4 separate regions of the Homo sapiens genome follow, and all the other regions are linked to region 1. The links are contacts of gene promoters, found by promoter capture Hi-C in blood cells and fetal thymus (Javierre and others, 2016). All regions are on one chromosome and are shown on one strand. The core of a region is centred on a gene start or on the middle of the fragment in contact, and the rest is flanking DNA. Distances in the headings are between cores, read along the strand shown.

What was found. Contacts are between HindIII fragments. The CHiCAGO score rates a contact against its expected background, and 5 or more counts as called.
Region 2: a fragment that was not itself captured here is called in contact with the fragment with the promoter of BATF3 in region 1 in 4 of 17 cell types (M0 macrophages, M1 macrophages, M2 macrophages and 1 more); the score reaches 9.1 in M0 macrophages.
Region 3: a contact is called between a fragment that was not itself captured here and the fragment with the promoter of BATF3 in region 1, in 12 of 17 cell types (megakaryocytes, M1 macrophages, M0 macrophages and 9 more). The highest score is 15.9, in megakaryocytes.
Region 4: a fragment that was not itself captured here is called in contact with the fragment with the promoter of BATF3 in region 1 in 7 of 17 cell types (megakaryocytes, M0 macrophages, erythroblasts and 4 more); the score reaches 9.1 in megakaryocytes.

Annotation. Positions count from the first base shown.
Region 1 is chr1:212,695,855-212,702,199 of GRCh38, forward strand. It overlaps BATF3 (basic leucine zipper ATF-like transcription factor 3), which reads right to left and starts at 3,986. Exons shown (of 3, transcript NM_018664.3): 1 at 3,819-3,986; 2 at 1,107-1,211. The coding sequence starts at 3,908. RefSeq lists silencers at 3,284-3,733, 3,924-4,003. The HindIII fragment of the contact is 2,939 bases long and covers 2,293-5,231 here.
Region 2 is chr1:212,453,129-212,459,473 of GRCh38, forward strand. No RefSeq gene overlaps it. Among named protein-coding and RNA genes, the nearest start is that of LINC02771, 17 kb to the right of the region's middle. RefSeq lists enhancers at 1-404, 483-652. The HindIII fragment of the contact is 6,682 bases long and covers 1-6,103 here.
Region 3 is chr1:212,472,514-212,478,858 of GRCh38, forward strand. It overlaps LINC02771 (long intergenic non-protein coding RNA 2771), which reads right to left and starts at 365. Exons shown (of 3, transcript NR_183725.1): 1 at 164-365. RefSeq lists an enhancer at 1-70. The HindIII fragment of the contact is 9,575 bases long and covers 1-6,345 here.
Region 4 is chr1:212,492,236-212,498,580 of GRCh38, forward strand. No RefSeq gene overlaps it. Among named protein-coding and RNA genes, the nearest start is that of LINC02771, 23 kb to the left of the region's middle. The HindIII fragment of the contact is 2,387 bases long and covers 1,102-3,488 here.

The DNA.
Region 1 (6,345 bases), core at 2,736-5,235:
TTAGGATAAATCCTAGGCTTCTGATTTGAGTGATGAGAAAGATGGTTCGCTCCATTAACTGCAGTTTGAAGACAATGAGAAGAGAAAGTCTCAGGGTAAACGGACAATAACACTCTTTTATGGATGTGGTACATCACAGGAGCCTGCAGTGGACCCATGGAGAAACAGCTCAGCAGACACTGAAGCTATGGGGTCTAGGGTCCAGGACAGAGGGCCTGCCTGGAGTAATCAATGTTGGGAGCTGATGCTGGGAGAACAGATTAATAGATTAAGTCTTCCAGGGTGAGAAAAAAAAAAAAGGGCAGAGTTTGAAACACTGGTCACCACCAACATTTAAGCCAATAAAGGGTCGAAGGCTAACAAAGAAATAGAGAAAAAAATCGGCGAAGAGGGTTAGGAAAACTAGGAAATGTGGTCTTTTAGAAGCAAAAGAGGGGAAAGCTTTAAGAAGAGATGGGTCCAAAGTGTCGAATGTTCTAACAAGGTAAAGGATGATGAGACCAGAAAGAGAGTCCTGGATAGGGCAGTGCCAGGGCACTGATGGCTGCAATGGGAGCAGTTTCTGTAGGGTGTGTGTGTGTGTGTGTGTGTGTGTACACACACACATTGGGTACATGTGTGAATGTGTGTGTTTGTTTGTGTGTATATATATGTGTGTTGAGTGGAAAGGGGGTAGCAGAAATTAAATCACAGAGGATTGGGGAATAACCAGGAACCAGGGACACAGAGACAACAGGTGTAACTACTCTTTTTTAAGAAGCAAAGATGTTAGCGGATTACTTTGGAGGGAAACAAAACAAAACAGGAAGTAAGGACGTGAGGGAAGAAAAGAAATGGAGCAAGAACTTGAAAGGGAATCAGGGTCCAGAAGAGGCTCTGTTTTGTTTTATAATGAAATAAACTTGACCATGAGAAGCACTCAGTGGATGAGGGAGAAATGAACACGTCCGTGAGCAAACAGTGAGAACACTGGGCTGGAAGGACCTGGCAGAAATTAGATATGAGTGTTGCTGAAATCGTGATAAAGAGAACAGTCATCACCCCCACTCCCGTGCAAGGCAGAGGCTGTGTGGCTCTAAGGTGGCTTGCCCCTACCACGGTCTCACCTCATGGAGCTTGTCAGCCTTCTGGGTCTGCTTCTTCCGACTTCTCTGAGCAGCAACTCGGTTTTTTTCTCTCCTTCGGACCTTCCTGTCATCATCCTCAGGGCTCTGGGGAAAAACACTGGGTGGGTGTGATGTCGTGGCCCCTCGCCTTACCCTTTTCTGCCCTGTCTCATCACTCAGCGTTGTTCACTGAGCTTCATCATTTGCTTTGCAGTAGACAGCACCACTAGTTGCTATACCAATGGGCTCACAACAGCCCCTTGCCCAGGAGCACTCACCATGTGAGTGTGTGAAGTGTGTGGTGTGACCGCCGTTTAAAAGATGAGGAATAAGAAACTCAGAGAGGTTAAGGACCTTGCTCCAGGTATTACAGCCACTAAGTGGGTGAGTGGGAAGTGGAACTCAGGTCTGTTGGTCTCCAAATCAACGTTCATAAACCTCTAGCCCACAGGGCGTGTGCCTGGAAGAGCTGTGGTGTCAATGTCGTCCATCTGAGACTGGAAAGCTGGGTGGGGGTGGGGGGCGGTGGAGAGATCTGCTATCTGGAACTTGCTGTTTGCCAGTCCTTATACCACCACACATGAAAGGTACTTTTGATACTGCATGCAAATCATGATTACACTTACAACTAATTGCAGCCACATAACTCTACCAACACACCAAATGATCTTAAACCCCACTGACAGTGTACTCATTTGAACAATGCTTGGCTGACATTTTGTTTCAGAAGTCAGCAAATTTTTTATGTGTCTTGAAAGCTGTTAGCTATATGTAAGATTTAACCAAATTCAGTCAAATCCCTCAATAGTGATCATGAAACAGGCAGGCGGAAAAATGCACTGACCATGGTAAAAACACTTCAATCAGCTATAGAAAACATGAAAAAGGAGAGCAGTATTTGCTTTCTAGAACCCCATGAGAAGACACCACCAAGCGGGAAAAATACCACACTTACAGAGTTTAAGAGCCAAGAGGTACAAACAAGGAAAACTACTCAGTTATTAATATTCACGGAATGCAAATATTAATAACACAAAAAAGGATATTTTCAGTTATCATTTGATCTCATCTTGTATTCCACATAAGACACACATCTTCCCAAGTTACTGCAGGTAAGAAGTTTCAGATATGCAAGAATATAAAGGCATAAAAAGGAGAGGAATAAATAACATACATAGCAAATAGAAGCTTAAGGGAACAAAGTATGATAATACAGTCTTCTAGAGAGGCAAAGAAGTCTTGATAAACAAAACCAGAACATTACAGGGGAACATGTGGTTAGAAGACAGCTCTTTAGCTTTAGAATCACACAGATCCTAGTTTTGTCTCTTAGTGTCAACATGGTCTTGTGTAAATGGTTTAAATTCTCTAAATTTTCAGTTTTCTCATTTATTGTAAGCATAATTCATTCATTCTTTCAATATGTATTAACTGAGCACCTACCATGTGCCAGACACTGTTCTAGACACTGGGGATACAAGCCCTAAACAAAGGGTCAGTGAACTCTGCAGACTTGGTGCTAACAGCCTAATGCTTAGGATTGGGATGCGATGAAATGAGATTTTGTCCTAAAGCTCCCAGCATACAGTATGCCCTCAAGAAGTTACCTGCCTTTGTTGAAGTTGCTACTTTAAAAAAAAATGTATTCTGCATAGTGCTTCTCATGCCTCTTTGCTCTCTGTAATCAAAAAGTCACTAGCACAAGAAAGCAGCCTGCATACTGCCCTCGGGGAGCTGACTCTAAACTGGACTCATCACCATGATCACACCTGCCAACCCAGCAGAAACATTTAATCAAGACAGAAAGAGGTGAGCGAAAGTTAGAGATAGTATTATGTTATTAACCATATCTGATTCAGTCTCAAAAATCCTGAGAGGTTGATGTTACTATATTCATTTTACAGATGGGGAAATGGACGGTCCGAGAGGTTAAACAAATTGCTCAAGGCTGCTCAGCCTGTGTGTGGCAAAGCCCAGGCCCAAACTCAGATCTCTGTGACACTCCAGCGACACCTGATGACATGGGCCGGGCGCTGAATTGGGAAGGTGGGGAGTAAGGATGAAAAGACCCAGTCTTCGTCGTAAGGCAGGTGGCCAAGACCCAGGCAAAGTTTCCAGACGGCCGTCCCTGTGGCCAACCTGGTCTCCTTCCTGACTGCGCCGCTGTAAACGTTGCTAGGGGACAGCGAACTGGGAAGGGGCAAAGGGTTTCCACCAGCTGGGGGCGGAGTCGGCCCTTTGTGGGTTCCCTCCGCCCAGGCTGACTAGTCCGGCGTTCTCCATTCCCGCGGCAGCACCCCCCCCACCCGGGGGAATCCTGGAGGGGCTACAGGCGCGGGTGGTGGGGTGGCAGTCGCTGGCTGCGCCAGGATGGGGCGGCCCTCAGGGCAGTGCGGAGCCCACGTGCCGGGGAGCACCGGCCATGCCCGGCCCAGCCAGGCGTCGGCGCCCTCGGGCTTCTTCCCCCAGAGGGCGCAGGAGCTGGCTCAGGAGCCATTCCAGGAGCCGCGGACACTGTGCGCACGACAGGGTCCCTGGATCGCCCCCATTCCCCAACATCCCTACGCCCCTACCTCTGCTTGTCTCCGGCCGCACCCGCCACCTCTGCACCTCCGCAGTCACCACCACGGAACTCCAGCACCCACCTCCTCGCCCCCCGCGGCGCGCCGGTCCCCGCACCCCACGGCCCTCCCTGAGCCTCTCGCCCTCTACCTGCTGCTGCGGCTGCGGCTGCGGCTGGTTCCCGGGCGCCGCGACGCTCCTCTGCAGGACGCTGCCGGCGGCCGGGAGCCCTTGCGACATGCCGGGCGCTCCTCTGGCCCGGCCCGCCCCGCCCCGCCCGCGCGCCCTGCCCGTGGGGCTGCCTACGGGCGCTGTCCCGCCGCCGGCATCCTCGTGCCGCACCCACGGCCTCGCGCCGGCCCCGCCCCCTCAGGCTTCCCGCTCTCCCCGCTACTCCACGCGTCGGCCCAGTGTCCCCGCGCGCCAGTCCCGGCAGCCGTCCTTCCCGTCCCACGTCTGCCCCGCCCTCCTTCTCCCACCCCCGCCTCGTTTCCTCCTCTGCCCGCCCTCTCTCCGCACCTCGGGGTCCCAAATCCCACCCCTGCCGCGGCTTTCCGCCGGCGCCCCGCGCTTCGTGGAAGTCACGTGGTGGCTCTGAAACCCCGGAGGGAACGCGAAGCCCACCCACGCGAGGCGACGCCCGGGGGGGTGGGGACCAGGGGGGCGCCATGCAGCCTTTGGGGTCCTTCGGCGGCTGCCGGGGAACTCAGGTTGAGAAACACAGTGGGTGTTTTGGGGTCGGTGTTTTTTCCCGGTCCCATCGCGGCATCTTCCTGCGCCTCAGCCACGCCCTGCGTCCGCCCCCCGGCGCGGGGGTCACAGTCCCGGGGGACTTTCTCCGCGGCGATCAGTCATCCGGGCGCCACTCTCGCTCCTCCAGCGGCCCCGAAGCCGCGGCTCTGGGGTGAAGACGCCGGCTTCACCGAGTCCCACCGCGCACCCCGAGCCACGGGCGCCCCAGGGACTCTGCAGGGAGTGCCTGCCCTTCCCGTCTCGGGTCCGCCGGGCTGTGGGAGGGAACGAGGCGGGGCGGCCCCGAGGGTGAATTCCCGGAGCGGAGGGTGGGCATGGGGAGGATGTCCCGGACAAAAACGGTGACGGGCTTCCCTGAGAGCGAATCTGCCACGTGGGACGTCACTAGTGACAGGTTTGGGGATCTGGACCCGCCATGCCACGGTTAAACGGCCCAGATCATTTTTCTTTTTCAAGATTTATCTGCTCGTGCCAAGCTGGGGACCGGGTTGAGGTAGGGCAAGTCCCTGTCCACCTGCCTGCCAGTCAAAAGATGCGAAGCCAAGACAATTACCCGTGGTCCTAGCGAAGGAAACACTAGCGGCCACAGGCTGTGGTCTGCATGCTGTGAGCACCGGGAAAGATAACCGCGATTCGGGATGGGCGGGTGGGAACCAGACCAGAAGGGCAGAAGTGCCTACCAAGTGTGGTCGCTTGGGTCTTCAGGTTTGTGGGCAGCAGTGGGCATGGGGACAGTCATTTCCGATTCCTTTTTAAGTCTTAAATGAGTGCACGTGCCCCCCGCCAGGATTTAAGACCCACTCTTGCAAAAGCTTTGAGAGAGCTTGAGTGAACTTGGCTGCCTGGAGGCCAGCGGGAAAGCGAGCGGAGATTCTTGTCTGTGTGATCAGAAGCTTCGGCCAACTGAGAGGCGGGGAGGAAGACGGAGGGTGGACGCAGCCCTTTAGAGTTGCAGCGCCACACTCCACAGCAGCAAGGCTGCGCAGCAGAGCCAGCGCTACGCTGGGTTATCTGCCCGGATTAATCTTTTCCTCTCCGTTATTTCATCACTCAGCTTAACTGGTGGTTGCCCCAGGACTATTTTGCATCCCACAAGGTACCCACACAAGGTGCCTAGCATAGCACGCTACATACACTCAACAGGTGCTCAGTATATGTATTGCACTAGGTCAGCTGAAAGCTCTCATTCCTGAAGCACTAAAAGGGCTCTAACGAGCTAGGAAAACATCTGGGTCAAGGGGTTATCATTTTCAGAAGTGATTTCATTCCCCAGTGTTTTTTATGCACAGAAAAGGCAAGGTAGAAACACCTCGGGAACATTCCCGTGCACTCCTACACTTTATTCTGGTCATGCCCACTTTTCTCACTGAACCACATCACATTTTAAGTCCTTTGGGGCTGCTGCTTCCCTGTCTCTCCCCAGGGAGCCTGAAACCATGTCCCAGCACACACGAACTCTTTATATAGGCATAGTCTACTGTCTTGTGTTACGCAAGGGTTTCTTCAAATACATTTAGTCTTGGTTAACTAGGTAGCATTTAGGGCAGAGATCAATTTGATGTAAAGATCATACATCAAAATGAATGGATTAAATAGCTAGATACAGAAATGAAAATCAGAGAGCTAAAGCAGAATTAAATTCTTATTTAAGTCATGGAAGCATAGGCAACATAGTGAGACCCCCAACTCTACCAAAAATTAAAAGAAATCAACTAGCTGAGTGTGGTGGTGCACACCTGTAGTCCCAGCTACTCAGGACGCTGAGGCAGGAGGATCACTTAAGCTCAGGAGTTTGAGGCTGCAATGAGCTATGATTGCACCACTGCACTCCAGCCTCCAGGGCAACAGAGCAAGACCTTATCTCAAATAAATAAAATAAAGTTGTGGAGATAAGATAAGGAAAGGATCTTATAAGAATACATGT
Region 2 (6,345 bases), core at 1,513-4,012, 240 kb before region 1:
CAGCGTGCCCTCTGAGCTGCCTCTCCTAGTCTCATGGCTTCCTGGAGACCACCTGCTCTGAAGCCCAAAGGAAAATAATGGGCTGGAGGAGCTGCCCCATCAGCCCAGACCATCCGCCCCGTCAGTCCCTGGGCTGCTGCCCCTGCGCCCTCTCTGTAGGGTCACCAAGGGCCTCTTCTGGCTGCCCTGCCCTGTCCAGTGCCTTATCTGGGTAGTCAGAGGACTTCAGAAGCTGCCAGCGGGAGACTCAGCCTTGCTGCCAGGGTCTAATATCGTGTGTGCATGTGTGGACCCCTTGTGCTGGGCTGACCAAGCCCCTTCACGACAGTTTGGTCTCTGCCCAGGTCTTCAGCTTCCCTGCCCTCCAGCCGGGCTCATGGCCTAGCTCTTGCAAGTTTACCCCTCCACCAAAGTTTAGTGTAGGTGCTGCCCAAGGCTCAGATCTTGTCACCACTACCTCCTCTCTGGGATGATTAGAGGGCATGGGGCTTCTGCATGCTAAACCCTTGGGGTGACAGTTGGGAGCACGGGCTGGGAGGGTGCTGGGAAGGCATTGCCAAGCTGGCTGCAAACCGTCCACAGGAAGCCAGGCTCTAGGAGATCCTGAGAGAGGGAAAATCCAGCAGCTGAGACACTAAGCGGGGCTGGAGGCAGAACCTGGAGCGAGTGTGACCCTGAGGTGTCAGGGAGCGGAAGCCTAAGGTCTCCAGTGGGTGGCTGGTGGGTGCAGCTATTTCAGAGTAGCCTGATCAGCCAGGCTGCTGCTGTCTTTTCCCTGTGTGTGAGCCAGGCTTTTGCTCCCCTGCTGTCCCCCCGCCCCCTTGGCTGCAGTTACCTCTACCCTGTCCTTGCCTCTCCCAGCTGAAGCCTACTTCCTGCCTCACTGCCCCTGCCCCTGCCTCTTGTCCAAGTCGGTGCTGATGGTCATTGCAATAGCGGCACTGGGCTAGCATGAGCCAGGTGCTGGCATGCCATGTTTGCGGCTTAATTTATTCTCTTCAAGGTGGTACTAACATTTGGTTGGGTCTTAGGAAGCATAAGTAACTTGCAAGGGAAACTACACCTCTGACAACTGAGAGGTGCTGGAGCTGAGATTCCAAGGCAAGTCTTCCTTCCAGCCTGGCCACTTTCCATTCTGCCCTGTTGTGCTTCAAGATCGAGCCTTCCAGGGAGCTCCACCCCAGGGCCATTGGAATTAGGATGTGGCATGCCGAGCTGGTGGCAGAGACTCTAAAATCATAGCCAGGGAAGGTACCTGGAGGTCCTGTGGAGAGAGACTCTACTTCTGTGTGTGTGTGTGTGTGTATGTGTGTGTCTGTCTGTCTCTCTGTCTCCCAGGCTGGAGTGCAATGGTGCAAACTGCAACCTCTGCCTCCTGGGTTCAAGTGATTCTCCTGCCTCAGCCTCCCAAGTAGCTGGGATTACAGGCACCTGCCACCACACCCGGCTAATTTTTTTACTTTTAGTAAAGACAGAGTTTCACTATGTTGGCCAGGGTGGTCTTGAACTCCTGATCTCAAGTAATCCTCCTGCCTCGGCCTGCCAAAGTGCTGGGATTGTAGGCATGTGCCACTACACCTGGCCTTGTTTTGCTTTTTTTTTTTTTTTTTTTTTTTAACACATAGTTTAATCCTTTAGTTAACAAGTATTTCTTGTGCTCTAGTCTTCACAGAATTCTGTGGTGAACAAGACCTGCTGTCATTTGAGAGAGGCTCTCTCGGACTAAGGATGTGTGATACAGGCTCAGGGTACTAAGCCCCATGGCATCACCCAGAGGGAGGTCGTGGGACCCAGGCCCACCTGTGGGAGCTCAGAGCCTGCTGGTGGCAGCTGCAAGCCACCCCAAAGATAGGAGAGGTCATAGTGGCTGTGGTGGCCGGTGATGCCCACCTGGAGGCCATGTGAGCTGTGGCTGGGACTCCCTTGTCTAATCTCCCCCATATTTCTGGATTTGGCCTCCACATTGAGGAATCTCTTACTACTCAGGATCCCTGAAATACATCTGTTGCCTTCCTGCCTGAGCCCTCTCACTTCTTCCCCTTTCCCGTTTATCCATGACCCTCCCCTTAACTGTCACTCATAACCTCTGTCTGATTCACACCACTGCACTCTCTCTGCCATTCCTTCAAAGATCAAGCAGTTTCCTTCTGTTAAACAAAATGTATGGGAGGCCATTATTTGGACTGACCTCCTGCATTAGGGTCCAACAGACCCATCCAAAATGGAGTCACTCACACTAAGGTTCCGCACCACGAAACCAAAAACGAAGCTGTTTACTTGGATCTGAGCTTCTGAGAAATCAGGAGAGAGTTGATAGTCATATCCCATTAGGCTAACAAGATCCTCAATAAGGAAAGTAACTTTGAAACGGCCAATCTGCATCTTATTTCTTGTTTTGGCTTTCTTCAGCCTTTTCTGCCTATAAGCTCAGCCCTTAGCTCAGCTCATGGGAGTTCCTTTTTATTTTGTAGACTGGATACTGCCCAGTTCATGAATTGCTAATAAAGGCAAACTAGACCTTTACAGCTCAATTTATTGAAATTTTGTTATTTGATACGTCCCACAATTTAACAATTGCACCTGATTTCACATATCCATTAATCAACAAAGGAGATGCATATTTCTTGCTTATTATATGTCCAGCACTGCCCTAGGTCCTGGTTTTGGGGTGAGGTGGGAGGAAGGATCGATTAAAATAAATGCAGGAACCTGCTCTGCTCTTAAGGGTCCCCAAAGAGGAGAGCAGTGGGCTGAGTTGCAAAGTGGTTTCTCTAGGACCAGGAGCTGTGGAGATCCACAGGGATCCCAGCCACAGAGTCCCCAGCAAGGCAGGCTTGGGGTAGGAGCTTGCTGAAGGGTGTTGGTTTTTTCTTGGACACTTCTGTCCTGGTCCGACCCACCAGCAGCTGCCTGCATGGGACGACAGTGCCCCCTGGTGGTCAATTCCGGGAACTCTCCAGCAGCTGTTTTGTAAAGCCCAGAGGATTAAGCTCCCTCAAGAACTTCTATTTTTGGTTCCCAGTATTTCCATAATGAAATGCTAACAGAAGCAGCCAAATGGCTTCCCAAAGGACCTGAAAGCTGCACTGCCGAACTCCTGTGTTCTCCAGCTCTCTGCTTCCCAGGGGTCAGATCTGCTGTTGGTTCTCAGGGGCAGTTCTCTGTTCCATACGGTTTAATTAAAGGGTCCCAGGGAGAGCAACTATATGTTTGCCTTGCCGAGTCTGACCTCAGGCTGTGTGCACATTCAGAGTGACGTGTTGGAAAGAACACTGGATCCAGGATCAGGAGGCTCATCCCACGCCAGCCGCTAAGTAGCTGTGAGATAATAATTTCAATAATAGCTACATTTTATTCAGTATTTACTCTGAGCCAGACATTGCACCAAGAGCTTCACATACATTGTTGACTTTGATCCTCACAACAAGCCTGTGAGATTGATACTGCTGTCATCTCCAGAAATCGAGGCAGAGAGAAGTCAAGTAACTTGGCCAAGATCATACAGTATGTGGCAGAGTTAGGACTTGAGTTCATGTTTCTGGGCATCCACTATGCTACACTGAACTGTGGAACTCAAAGAATCGGAAACTAGTGGTAGTGTCCAGACACTGATGTTTTTAAATGTTCCCCAGGTGATGGTGATGTGGAGCCACCTTTGTAATCTATAGGGTCCCACCAGCTATAACACTCAATGAGCCCCATGCCTTCCAAGAAGCAGAGGTGAAGTTGGGATGAGGGGAGAAGCCTGGGTTCAGGCCCTAATCTCCATGGATGTACAGGGCTGAACAGAGTCACAAGCACAGCAGAAACACCATGATGGCAGAGCAGTCATCCTGCCTGCTGTCCTCTTTATCTGGAGATGGTTTGTAGGACAGGAGAGCAATTGCCTTCCACAACATTCCTCAGAGTTCGTTATGTCGCATACACCCCAATCTACAGATCCATCACCTGTCCATTTATCTCAATGCCTCTAGAGCCATTTTCTATTTTTTAATAGATTCATTTGACAAACACTTGAGACTTATGATGTGCCAGGCCCTGAGTCTGCAGGGGTGGAAGAAGCTGGCATGGCCCCACTCTTGTGAGTTGGCAATCTAGAGGAGGAGATAGACAGACAGCACATTTTGGAAAAAAAAAAAGCACACTGTGACACATGCTCTGAACGACACAGCAATGCACAGTGGTGGAAAACAATAGGAGAGCAGAGGGACCTAATAAGACAGAATGAGCTGGGATTAAGCAGAGACCAGAAGAATGTGTTTAGTGTGTGCCTCCTGTTGGTAAATGAGCTCTGTTGTGTTCACTACACACTGGGCAGTTTGGTGCAGAGCTTGCTTTTCCCTGGGCCTCTACTGGAGTCCCCTCCAGGAGACATGGGGTGGCTGCTGTTGACATTTTCTCCCTGAAAGCCCAGGTATCTCTCCAGAGATGGAGAACTCTGAGCTTCCTTTTTACAGAAAGGACTCAAACTGGTGGCTGTTTGGGGATGGGACGATGATGGGTGATGTTTGAGGCCGGAGTTTCAGAATCAGAAAAGTCTCTGTAGTCAAGGCCTTGAGGTTTGCTGACTTTGCGTGACACCCAAAGCGTAGGACCCACAATCAAATCTGTGGAGAGGGCGCTTGTGGTCCATGTGTAGGTGTATACCTGTGAGCATAGGCAAGTGTGCGTGCACACATGTGTGCATGAGAGCAGGCTCAGGCTTCAGCTCCTGGTCACTCTAGTCCTTCTTCTATTCTCTCTTCTTTGATGGTAGGGCTGGGACTTGGCAAACCACTTTTGGCTTTGGCAGCTGCTTCCTATCGGATTCAGCCAGTAGGGGGTGCTAGAAGGACACTGGAAAGCTGGAGGGAAGCCCTCTTTTTCTTGTTTACTTCTGTTCTTGTAAGCGGCTCCGGTAGTACTTCTTCACCCCGGCAGCAGCAGTTCCTTACCATAGCAGCAGCTAAATTCAGTTTACAATCTTTCTAACACTTGTAGAACTAACTTCACCCCTAATTCAGAGGCCAACACCAGCCGGCAGGCACCCCCCACCTCACCAGATGTCTGGTTCCAGCCCCACAAGGTGCTCCTGTCTCTAAGTTTTAATCATTCCAAATGCACCCCTTTGCTGCCTCGTCCTTGGGGTGGTAGTGCTTCCTCCATGATACCTTCTTAGCATCTCTGACATTAGTGTTAAGGGGTCCCAACCCCTAACATGAGTTTCCTGGACTGTGGGGGGCCTTTTGTGCCCTTCTGAGCCCTGGGGAGATCAAAAGCAGTTGTCTAACCCCTCGGTGGTTAGTAACTGCTCTACTCTGAGAAAGAAGGGCTGGCTTATCCTTGGAGAGGCCAGTAATTCTGTTCTCAGCTCTTCTCTCTGCGGGCCTCCACATCTCAGGAAGAAAGGACAGGTGCCATCTCAGTTCCAGTCATCTTAGCACACGCCTCCCTCTCTGCCTCCCTGCTGATCTGCACCTTAGCTGTGGCCTGGCCTGGTCTCAAAATGCTCCCAGGAGGAGAGGCCATGGCCTTCTCCATGCCCACCCTCCCTCACCAAGTGTGAGCAGAACTGATGGAGAAGCTGGGCCGAGGGAGGAGAGAAACTCGAGTGGGAGACCTTGGGGCCGTTGGGAGAGGGTACAGAGAAGGTTGCTGCCTCAGATGCCGTGGGTTTCTGTTTCCTTCCCCATTAGTGTCTTTCTCATGGAGAAAATCTGTTTTCCTTGAAGTAACTTGACTGAGTCTTTGACTGGTTCTCCTTTGCAAGGTGAACCCAAGAAAGAAAAGAAAAGACAAGGAACCCAACATCCACAGAGGACCTGCTATGTGGCAGGAAGTGCTGGGAGCCCTGAACACATGTATGGCCCTCCTCGAGGACTGACTGAGCAGCTCTGGCTGATGGGGGTGTGGCTGAGGGGGAGGAGGGGAGGGGCTAGGAAGACAGTCTCAGAAGAAAGAATAATGAACACTAGATGTGAAAACTTCCACAAAGCAGGTGGCCCACCAGGCAGGATCAGAGCAGTTCCCTGCCATTATAGAGTTTCCTTTTGCCTAGCTCTTCTGTGTTTGTATTGGGGTGGTGTGTGTGGGGGGAACACAGTTTTGTTTTGATCATTTATAAAGCTTTACTGAGGTATAATAGATACACAAAAAAATCACATACATATAAAGAGTACATCTTGATGAGTTTGGACATATGCATACACCTGTGATACCATCACCAAAATTTAGGTACTAAACATCTCTATCGCCTCCAAAAATTTCCTTGTGTTCTTTTGTGTTTTGGTTTGTTTTTTTGGTAGTAGGAACACTAAACATGAGATCTATCCTCTCAACATATTTTAAAGGGTGCAATTCTGTATC
Region 3 (6,345 bases), core at 1,611-4,110, 220 kb before region 1:
GCCCTGCCTGATGGGTGAGACCATCCTTGTTGGTGGGGTCTCAGACTTGGTACCCGTCTCTGGTCCATCCTGATTTACTTGAAGGACACAGCCATGCCTCCCTACAGGCAGCAGCCGAGCAAGGACTCTAACCCAGGTCCTTTCGTGCCAGACCCCACATTACCTTGTTCATACTGTGGCAAGGACTGTGGAGCCAGGGTCCCTCAAAGCCAGCCTTGGGGTAGAGAAGAGAGGTGAGCTATGAAGAGGTGAGACAGCAGGCAGGTCCTGTGGAAGGCAGGAGGCCTCACAGTGGGAGAAGGTCAGTGAGGGTGATGGAGAAGTGGATTTGGGGAATCAACCAGGAGGGGCCCTGTGGGGCTCTCAGACCTATGGCCACTCTGGGGCTGCCTAGAGACTGTCATAATAACCACAGTCATTATGATGATGGTAGGTAGTATTTAGTGAGCATTTACTATATGCTGAGTATTGGATTACCTGCCTTCCTGTATTACCTTATTTTATTCTCATGGTAACCTGCTGAAATAGGAGCTATTATTATCTTCTGCTTTACAGGGGAGGCCGCTGACCCTTGGGGAGGCTAAACAACCTGCCCACAGGCATTCTCTCATAAGCAGATCTGAGATGAAAGTCCAGGCTGCCTGATTCCGGGCCCCACTCTCTCTGACTTCTAGAATTATTTGCTTCTTGGAAAAAAACAAAACCACCCTGCCCAGATGGTGGGGAGTTGGGGGTGTCAGGAGTTTCAGTTTTGTAGAGGAAAGATAAGTGCATTTATGTGGTTTCCACACAGAGGCATACCTTTGATTGTAGGGTCTGGAGAGGGGCCCTTTTGGAGAAGGTCATCTTCCCTGAATGAAGACGCAGCTCTGGTTGGAGGGGCCTCTGAGAAGCAGCCAAATCAGTCCTGCTAACCCACAGGCCAGTGAGCCATGGCCAGACCACTCTCCCATTCACAGAAAGTGGGTCTGTGCCTGGGATACACGGAAGAATAAGTTCAGTACATTCAAGGCCAGGCATGGTGGCTCATGCTTGTAATCCCAGCACTTTGGCAGGCCGAGGCAGGAGGATTGCTTGGGGTATACCCGTGGGCTGCCAGCTGGTCCAAGCAATGGGTGAGAAGGTTCAAGACCAGCCTAGGCAACAAAGCAAGACCTCCAGCTCTAAAATAACAATAATAATGATAAATAAATAAATTCAATACATATGCCAGGCCTTGTTGGTTAGAGACCAATGCTTAAGAGCCTGCGGAAGAACAGCTTACGACCACTCTGTGGTTTTTCCTCCCCATTTGGCTGCCTGAGCGGTGCAGTGGGAGCTGCAGATCAGGCTTCAGTAGGCAACAGCTGAATAGGCGAGAGGGTATCTGCACACCTTCTGGCCAGTCTTGACCTCGGGTTGGGTAGCAGCGAGCCTTGGGGTTTTCATGAACAGGTGACTGGGCCAGGTGCAGTGACTCATGCCTGTAATCCCAGCACTTTGGTTGGCTGAGGTGAGAGGATCGCTTGAGGTCAGGAGTTTTGAGACCAACCTGGGCAACATAGCGAGACGCCATCTGTATTTAAAGAAAAAGAGAGAGAGAGAGAGAGAGAGAGAGAACAGGTGGCTTAAGATAGGCAGGTGAGGAGCGGGGCCCTCAGTGTGAGCCAGTTATTGTCCATGCAGCCCTTTGGCCAGCCCTAGCTCTGCTGCAGTGTCTGGATCCAAGGGCTTCCCTCATGTGCTGGCTCAGCCTGGCTCCTCTGCTCCTTCACAGGTCCGCGGATCAAAACTCTTTTTTCGTATTTCCTTGAACAAACCATAGGTTGTAAAACTGCTGCAAACAATTATTGTGAAGCCAGAGGGAGAAAATATTAAGATATGTGGTGCTTTAACTTTTTGACTGGACTCACAGTAAGAAATGTATTTTATATTGTAATCAAGTGTGTACACACACACACACACACATATACACTCAGATACACACAACTAAAACAGAAATTTTCTTGAAACAATTATTAATTGTACTATATGCAATACACTTCATGTTTTGTATTTCATTCAATTTCATTTAAATAAAATGTGATTTGAGATGCTAGTTAGTGGGTCATGAAATCAATTTAGAGACTCTCAAACTACATTAAAAAACACCAGGTTAGCTGAAGATGCTGATAGCTAGAATAACGAACAGACTGAATAGTTCATCTGTCTTGACTCCCCCTGGGACCTGAATTTTCTGAGGTCAGAGGCTGAGCCCTCCCTGTAAGTCCTAATGTGGGATCCTGCACCCATTAACCTTCTGAAAATACAGACACTATGGCAAACACCAGGACTCCAAGCAGAAAGGGGGTCCAGGGGAGAAGGCAGGAGGTGCCTGTCTTCAGAGTTAACATTTCGTTGGGATTTATTTAGCCATAAAATGACTTCCAGGGAACAGGAAACAGGTTGAATGAGGCTAGAGAACAAGATGAGGACATTAGAGGCAAAACACTCCCCAAAGCTGTTCTGAGCATCCTGAGCATTGCTGTGTGATCAGCACAAAGAGGAAGGAATAGCGAATGGTTAAGAGGATAGACTCAGGAGCCAGCTGGCCTTGGGTGGAACCTGCCTTGCTATGCCTCAATTTCCTTATTCCTATAAAATGGCGATGTAGTACTATTCAATTCTTAAGAGTTGTTACCTAATCAGTATGCCAGTTATCAATGCTAAAAAAATAAAGCAGCTGAACTGCCCACACAAATCAGGCTCCAACTCTTGCCAGCGACGGTCAAGATTTTGGGGCTCCAAGTATGTGGGCAGGTCCGTGGCTTTCTTCCACATTGTGCAGAAAGGGGAGAATGTGGGTTTCTGGGCGCAGCTTTGCAATTCCAGCAAGCCTGGCATATGTCTTAGATGAATGAATAAAGGATGAATGGGTTCTCTTTTCTCTGTCCCCACTGACATTGCTTAGCTGAGGGCAGGGCCTCAGCTACTAGACTCTCTATTCCATACTCCACACTCTTGCTAAAATGATCTTTCTAAAGTGCAAATTTGAGAATGTTTCTTTCTAGGAGGAATCCCTATATTATGCCCCTGCTTAAACCCTTGGAAGGCTTTCAATGGTCTATGATGCATTCCAAACTCCCTTCTAGGCAAAGCCTCAGGCCATCTCTCAAACCCACTCTTCTTCTTTTTTATTTATTTATTTTTTATTATACTTTAAGTTCTAAGGTACATGTGCACAACGTGCAGGTTTGCTACATAGGTATACATGTACCATATTGGTTTGCTGCACCCATCAACTTGTCATTTACATTCGGTATATCTCCTAATGCTATCCCTCCCCCAGCCCCCAACCCCCTGACAGGCCCTGGTGTGTGATGTTCCCCCGCCCTGTGTCCAAGTGTTCTCATTGTTGAGTTCCCACCTATGAGTGAGAACATGCGGTGTTTGGTTTTCTGTCCTTGTGATAGTTTGCTGAGAATGATGGTTTCCAGCTTCATCCATGTCCCTGCAAAGGACATGAACTCATTCTTTTTCATGGCTGCATAGTATTCCATGGTGTATATGTGCCACATTTTCTTTAACCAGTCTATCATTGATGGACATTTGGGTTGGCTCCAAGTCTTTGCTATTGTGAATAGTGCCACAATAAACATACGTGTGCATGTGTCTTTATAGTAGCATGATTTATAATCCTTTGGGTATATACCCAGTAATGAGATTGCTGGGTCAAATGGTCTTTCAAGTTCTAGATCCTTGAGGAATTGCCACACTGTCTTCCACAATGGTTGAACTGATTTACACCAACAGTGTAAAAGCATTCCTATTTCTCCACATCCTCTCCAGCATCTCATCTGTTGTTTCCTGACTTTTTAATGATCGCCATACTAACTGGCGTGAGATGGTATCTCATTGTGGTTTTGATTTGCATTTCTCTAATGACCAGTGATGATGAGCATTTTTTCCTGCGTGTTGGCCACATAAATGTCTTCTTTTGAGACGTATCTGTTCCATATCCTTTGCCCACTTTTTGATGGGGTTTTTTTTTTCTCATAAATTTGTTTAAGTTCTTTGTAGATTCTGGATATTAGCCCATTGTCAGATGGGTAGATTGCAAAAATTTTCTCCCATTCTGTAGGTTGCCTGTTCACTCAGATGGTAGTTTCTTTTGCTGTGCAGAAGCTCTTTAGTTTAATTAGATCCCATTTGTCTATTTTGGCTTTTGTTGCCATTGCTTTTGGTGTTTTAGTCATGAAATCCTTGCCCATGCCTATATCCTGAATGGTATTGCCTAGGTTTTCTTCTAGGGTTTTTATGGTTTTAGGCCTTACATTTAAGTCTTTAATCCATCTTGAATTAATTTTTGTGTAAGGTGTAAGGAAAGGATCCAGTTTCAGCTTTGTACATATGATTAGCCAGTTTTCCCAGCACCATTTATTAAATAGGGAATCCTTTCCCCATTTCTTTTTTATTTTTCAGGTTTGTTAAAGATCAGACGGTTGTAGATGTGTGGTGTTATTTCTGAGGCTTCTGTTCTGTTCCACTGGTCTCAGGCCCATTCTTCACCACCCTCTTCACACCCTAGCTTCTGGTCCTACCAAATAATTTGCATTCTCTGACGGTGCAATATAATCTCAAGTCTCCATGGTTTTGCCCATGTCATTCCCTGCACCTTGCCTGTCACAGCCCTGCCAGCTGGTCTGGCCCCATTATAAAGACTTATGACGCTCAGTGGAAGCACTGTGTCCTCTGACCTGTAGAGCCGGGAGCTTCTCCTCTGTGCTCCCACTTGCTCTGACATTATTCTGAGGAGGAAAGCTGAAAGGCTTGCCCGGCTTCTGGACTCTGGCCACTAGAGAGCAGTAGAGGGTAGACAAGCATCTGGCCTGGGAAACCCCAGACCTGCTCTTCTTGCTCTGTCCTTCCAGACACCGCCACATCTCACTCCCGGAATCTGCACAGCCCCTTTGTGGGTCTCTTGGCATCTGCCACGCCATCTTCACTTTTATGCGCAGAGCTGGCCAACCAAGGGCACTGTTAAAAAATAAAATTTCAACATAGTGAAACAAGTAATTGGCTTTCCTTTTTTTTTTTTTTTTTTTTGAGACAGGGTCTTGCCCTGTCATCCAGGCTGGAGTTGCAGTGGTGCGATCTCGGCTCACCGCAGCCTTGACCTCCCAGGCTCAAGCGATCCTCCCACCTTAGCCTCCAGAGTAGCTGGGACTACAGATGCGCACCATAAAGCTGAGCTATTTCTTTTGTAAAAGAAGGGGTTACACCATGTTGCCCAGGCTGGTCTTGTGCTCAAGTGATCTGCCAGCCTTGGCTTCTCAAAGTGCTGGAATTACAGGCATGAGCCACCACACCCAACCTTTTTTTTTTTTTTAATTGAGACAAAGTCTCACTCTGTTGTCCAGGCTGCAGTGCAATGGGGCAATCATAGCTCACTACAGTCTTGAACTCCTGGGCTTAAGTGATCCTCTTGCCTCAGCCTCCTGAGTAGCTGGGACTGCGGGCATGCACCACTGTGCCTAGCCCTACTTGGCTTTTATTAGTGATCCAGGAATCAGACAGCATATCTTCCAAAATAGAGGGAGTTCCACTCGGCACGACAGATCCATTGTAAGGTAGCTTGAGCAGGAACAAGGAAACAGAATACCACAAAAAAGCAGATGAGTTAACGTCAGGTTGCTTTCCTTATAAGGGTTAAAGGAAAGAGGACTATCTTATCGTGCCAGCTCAGGTTTACTGGGCCCTTTCCAATTGGTTGCCATAAATCTCCTATTTTTAGGAAAACATGATCTGTTAGGGGATTTTCCTGCTTCATAAAGTTTCAGTTTGATTATGCAGCACTTAGCACGAGTGACTCCATTTTGGCTTGGTCTGTTGGGGCCTAGTGTAGGACCTCAGTCCAAAACAATGGGCTCCTATAAATTTTATTTAACATCACCACGGAGTGGGGCAGTGAGTGAGAGGGGTGAAGTGTGACAACCTATAGATTGTATCTGTGAGTGCTCTTGCTGCAAACGGCAGGAACTCACTCTGGCTAACTCAAGCTAAGAACGAGCTTATGAGAAAGAATATTGGATGGTTTACAGGATTGATTCGTGTCTGGCAAACCAGGTTCGGGAAAATGGGCAGGGAACACCCTGAAGGCCAGGTAGCTAAGAACCTAGTCACAGCCGCTCAGCCTCGGGGTCAGGATGCCTGTGTGAATTCTGCTACCAGTTACCATGGACTGCTGGACTCTCGACCCCACTGCCATGGCTTGACCTCCCAGACTCAAGCAATCCTTCCACCTTAGTGTTCTGAGTAGCTGGGACTACAGGTGTGCACCGTCTCTAATTACCTGTCTCTCCCTCAAGAGTCAAAGCCCCCAGCCTG
Region 4 (6,345 bases), core at 1,045-3,544, 210 kb before region 1:
CAGGGATTATGTGACATGAGGAAAGAAGAAACCAGTCCTGCTGGGCTATTGGCTGGTGTTCAGCACCTGGCAAGGTGGCTAGAACTTGTGAGGCTCTCAGTACATTTGATGTTAACTGGCAGGTACCAAGGGAGCAAGATGAGAAAGGAGATGGAGGAGGCTGGAAGGCTGTTCAGATTTGATCAAATGTCCCACAGTTTATCCTATAGATACATTACCTGCACATAACATTATGTGTGGGTGAGTTTATTCACTGCAGTATTAGATGCAATAGCAAAAAACTAGAACCAGCCTAAATGTCCATCAATGGGACATTGTTTAAATACATTATGGTTCATCCATACATTGAAATATTATATTTTTGTACAGTTCTTGAGCTAAGCATGGTTTTTACATTTTTAAATGTTTAAGGGAAAATTAAGAATAATATTTATTTATTTATACATATATTTTTGAGACGGAGTGTCACTCTGTCACCCAGACTGGACATTGCAGTGGCTATCGGCTCCCTGCAACCTCTGCCTCCCGGGTTCAAGGGATTCTCATGTCTCAGTCTCCCCAAGTAGCTGCGAATACAGGTGTGTGCCACCACACCCAGCTAATTTTTGTATTTTTAGTACAGATGGGGTTTCACCATGTTGGCCAGGCTGGTCTGGAATTCCTGACCTCAGGTGATCCACCTGCCTTGGCCTCCCAAAGTGCTAGCATTACAGGCGTGAGCCACTGCACCTGGCCAAGAATAATATTTTGTGATATATGAAAATTACATGAAATTCAAATTTCAGTGTCCATAAAAAAATTTCACAGGAACACAGCCACATTCATTAGTTTAGGTATCATCTGTGGCTGCTTTTGTACTACCATGCAGTATTGAAAAGTTGTGAGAGGAGGCCTATGGCTCTCAAAGCTGAACGTATTTTCTACCTGGCTCTTTACAGAAACCATTTGTAAGGCCTTATGCAGACATCTCTGGAAAGCTGCAGGAGAAACTAACCACAGCTGGAAAGTGAGTGTCCACAGGATAGGGTCAAAAAGGAGACTTCTTACAGCATAACTTTTGTATGTTTTGAATTTTGAATCGTGAATGTTTAACCTACTGTAAGCTTACTTTGAAATCTATTTATTTATTTTTAATTTTTTTAATTAAAAAAATAGAGATGGGTTCTTGCTATGTTGCCCAGGCTGCTCTCAAACTCCTGGCCTCAAGCGATCCTTCTGCCTCAGTCTCCCAAATTCCTGGGATTATAGCTGTGAGCCACAGCATCCAGCCCTTAATTTGAAATTTAAAAAGAAAAAAAGAAAAAGGGCCCCATTTCCCCTCTGGGACTGAAGGAAGAGGAAGAAGAGATGGAAGAAGGGGTGGCTAACTTAGTGCTGGTCTGGGTGAGGTCATGGGCCTACAGTGGAGAGGCTGCAAGGTGATCCCAGACTTGCCCTCAGCCTTGTGCTTGCTACGTGACCCAGGACATTCCCCTTCCCTGTGGGCAAGTGGTCAGTGCTGCCCATGTGCCTAGAGGCCCTGGCCCAGAAAGGGGCCAGAAGATTGGCCTCCATCTCTCTGCCTGCAGGGGAAACAAGAGAAATGGACACGTACACCCGGACTGTGGCCTCATCAGTAGCTGATAAACAAGAAGCAGAGTGGATTGGGAATGTGGAATGGTGAGAAGGACATGGACACTGGATTTTAGTTCTGCTTAGCCACCAACTGTCCCTGTGACCTTAGATTGGCCATTTTCCCTTCAGGGCCCAGCTCTATCCCTGCCAACTGGGGCCTTGACCAGAATGATGGTCCTGCAACTGCCATTCCTCTACCCCTTCCACCCACTCCCTTCTGTTTAGCCTATTGGGCATCCACTCAAGACTTCACAGAGGCCCTGGATTGAGAAAATGACAACATACAAGTCAAAACAATAGCCGGTGTGCTAAATAATCTGTAGGACACATGGTTCTGCCACTCCATAGCTCTGAGAGCCTCCCCTGGTACAAGTTCTTCAGGCAGAGAAGTCCAGGAAACACCCTTCAGACACAGGCAGAGCAGTGGGGACACCACAGCCCTGGATGATATCCAGTCTGGCAAAGCAATGGCAGGCAGGAGGTGGCGGGAGGGGTTCATGGACATGGTGGAGGGCTTCTCATGAGCAAACCCAGGTGGATGCACTAACACCCTGAGTGCTGGGAATTCATGGCTGCAGCTCCAGAAGATCCTTGAGGAAGTCCTGCTGGCGGCGAAGCCCACACGGACATGGCGTTCTGTGGAGGTCTGTCCATCTGAGCAAGGTGTGTGGCTGCATCCTCCTGGCCCTCATAGTGAGGACCAGCCAGCTCAGAGGACAGCCAACATCCTCAGAGGGTGCTAGCTATGTCCTCAAGGCTCCCTCAGGCCTGGAAGCCTTTCCTCTCCCTCTTCTCTATCAAGCCCCCATGCCTTGTTCATGACCCTGCTCAAAACTTTCCTCTTGAACCCACGAGCTAACTTGAAGGGGCTGCTGATGGCCGAAAATGAGATAGTTGGAGCCACAAAATAAATAATGATCACAATAGATTATAACTTACAGCATTTAAGGATAAAACAAGAAGTAATGAGTCTATACCAATAGAGGTAAATATTCGAATAAGCAAATAAACAGGCAAGAAGGGAGAGTTCTTCCTTAAAGCAGCATTATAATTAGTAGGAATTAGAAGGCATGATGGAAATAGAAAACACTTGGCAAACACTTACCATTATAGTTGTGTTAAGCAAGAATCATCAATGGAAACAAACACTCATGAGCGAAAATGTAGAGAAACAAGATGCTTACATTATCTCAAAGCGCCTTCCCATAAGATGGTTAGTAATTGCAAAGAGAAAAGTAGTCACTTTATAGTAGGAAAAATGTGGCAGACTCCACCTTAACCAGGTGATCAGAGTTAACATAATAAATAATAGAACATATCAACCTCATGTACCATCTGATATAATGTACCAAGAAAGGCACAACATAAACTTATGTGGTGCTCTTAAAAAATTTGGCTGAGCGTGGTGGCTCATGCCTGTAATATCAGCACTTTGGGAGGCTGAGGCAGGAGGATCGTTTGAGTCCAGAAGTTTGAGATCAGCCTGGGCAACATAGGGAGACCTTGTCTCTATAAATAATTTAAAAATTAGCCGTAGCGTGCTGTGGAGTGTGCCTGTAGTCCCAGCTGCTCAGGAGGCTGAAGTGGGAGGATCACCTGAACCTGGGAGGCGGACGTTGCAGTGAGCCAAGATCGTGCCACTGCACTGCAGCCGGGGTGACAGAGTGAGACCCTGTCTCAAAATAAATAAGTAAATAAATAAGTAAAGAAAAACATAAATAATAAATAAATAATTCACAACCTGAGGAAATACCAGCTAAACCCAAATTGAAGGACATCCTACAAAATAAGTGTCTAGTATTCTTCAAATGTTTGAAGGTCATGAAAGTGTAAGTGTAAGCTGAGGAACTATCCCAGACTAGAGGAAACAAGGAAGCTTGGCAACAAATGCTCTATGTGATCCTGGATCGGCTCCTGGTCAGATAAGGACATTTGTGGGGCAATTGACAAAATTTGAATCAGGTTTGTAGTTATGTCAATTTCCTGGTTTTGATGATGCACTGTAAACATGTAAGATGTTAACATTTGGGGAAAGTGGGTGAAGGGTATCGGGAATTTTTTGTACTATTTTTGCAGCACTTATGTAACTTAGAAATGGTTTTTGACAAAACAAAACAAAAACCTCTTCTGTCCAACTTCCCCAGAATCACTCCCACAGCTGTGTCACCAGCTACTTCACACGTTGCATTGCTATTGTTTACACATCTGTGTCCCTCAGGCTTTGAGTTCCAGGACAGGGACTCTGTTTCTTCAATCTTCAGTTTGGCCTCATTTTAGAAGTCACGTTTGGATGGAGGCTGGCTGTCCCTCTTCAGAACAACTCTCCACTCTACCCCTTCATTATCCCACAGTAAAAAGCAGCGCTGTCCACTCTGTTGCTCAGACAAAATCGTAAGGGTCACAGTTGACTCTCTTTTTGTCTCATCCCACGGTGGGTCCACCAGCAAGTCCTGTTGGAGTTCTGCCTCCAGAGTTTATCACCAACCAGATCACTTCCCTGCTCCTCCGCCAGACCCCTCATCTGAGCCTCCATCACTTTGCAGCTGAACCTGAGCCTCACCTTCCTAGCCGACTTTCCCCTGCCTCACCTTCAAGTCCACTTGGGGCAGCCAGAGGGATCTTTTCAAGGGGAAAGTAGGGTCTCACATCACTCTTTGCCTAAAACCATTCCCCGCATTGGTTTCCCAGCATGTACTATGAAAGTCCCTACCTGCTCTGGGGCCCTGCCTTCCTTCTGCCCTCAGCTTGAACCTGTCCACCCTCCCTCACCTGGCTCCAGACACACACCTTTCAGCTTTGCTGCAGATATGGCAGGTTTGTTTCCATCTCTAGGATGTGGATTTTCCCCGGCTTTTCCCACAACCATCTCCTTCCCAATATTCAGGTCTCAGCCCCAGTGTCACCTCCTCAGATAGACCTTACCCGATCTGGTAGCCAAAATCCTGCTCTTCCCCTAACACTCTTTGTCCCTATATTAGTTTGCAGTGGCTGCTGTAACAAAGTGCCACTAACTGAGTTACTTAAAAGCAACAGAACTGAACTGTGTCACAATTCTGGAGACTACAAGTCCAAGGTCAGGGTTGGTTCCCTCTGGGAGCTGTGGGGGAGAATCTGCCCCAGCCCTCTCTCCTGGCTCCTGATGGTTTGCTGGCGATCTCTGGTGTTCCTTGGCTTGTAGAAACATCGCTTCAGTCTCCACCTTTATCTTCACATGCATTCTTCTTGTGTACATGTCTGTCTCCAAATTTCTGTTTTATAAGGACACCAGTCATATTGGATTAGGGCCCACCCTACTGACTTCATTTTAATTAGATTACCTCTGTAAAAACCCTATCTTTTCATGCCACTGCACTCCAGCCTGGGCGACAGAGCGAGACTTTGTCTCAACAACAACAACAACAACAACAACAACAACAAAACCTATCTCCAAATAAGTGTACTAGGGATTCATGCAGAACCCCTAGTTTTTTTGTGGAAACATAGTTCAACCCATAACAGTCTCATTTCCATGTTACATTTAATTTACAGCCTTTATAACCATTTTGAAGTATATTGTTTACTTGTTTGTGTTCATTTCCTGTGTCCCCACACTATATCCAACATAAGCTACATGAGGACAGAAGTCTCCTCCAACCTCAGTGCTTGGTGCTTTTGCTCTGCACAGGGGGATCTAGCCTCTATTTCTACTGCATGGGTCAGGATACCTCTCTCAGGCTGCCCCAAATGAGAGGAACTAGCCCTGCCCTCACTCAGTTTCCACAAGCAGCCAATGGGATTGTTCCACATGCATTACTTAGCTCAGTGTCCAGCCAAAGGTTTGCAGCATCCAACCCTGGATCCAGCCATGAACTTCAGAGCTTCAGAAATGCCCTACATATAGTAAATGCTCAGTAAATACTTGCTGAAGGAATGAAGGCTGCATATAGTTTGGACTTTGACTCAGGTTGCGTGCCCTGCAGTCAGGGGGAACTATTAGCATAAGCTGATAGTTCCAGGCAGCCGCTGTGGAGCTAGACTGCTTGGGTCTGCGCTTGTGCTGTGAGATGTGGGCATGTTACTTATCTACTCCTTGCTTTGCTTTCTCCAACTGTAAAATGGGGACAATAATAAAAGTAATAAAAGTATCTCCGTAGTCGAGTTGTACAAAACGAGTTTACATATGCGGACAGAGTGCCTGGCTGAAGGTAGTGCTCCATGCTCACCCAGGCTTGGTCTGAAATCTGAGAAATGTCCTGGTAGCCAAAAGAACCAAAGCCCAGAGAGGCTTGTCGGGTCCATCAGGGATGCAGAAGCTCCAGGTTTCTGCTCAGGCCCCCGCTTCAGAATCCCCATCTGCCCCCAAGGAGAGAACAATTGAGCACTAGGGAGATTTTGACCATAAAAGCTTTTTTCAGTTACTAGCTGGGTGGACCTTGGGGTTTCATTGGTGCTTCTGGCTGATTGAGAAGGAAAAAGAGGATCTAACTCCTCCCACTCTTTCTGAACTCCTGAAGCGAGGTGTGGAGCTTCCAGATGACTCAAGCAGCGCCAGTTCCTTGGAATTAGCCACTCTGGCTCAAAACCATCTGTGTTGCAACAGGCTCACTCAGCCACCCCCAGAAAAGCTGACCCACCACTCACTCAACTGGCTTTCTGATAAGTATGCCTATATATAGCCATACTTACCGAGCTTTGTATAGATGCATGCACTTGGAAACCAGCAAAGCTAAAAATACCGCCTCCTCATACCTA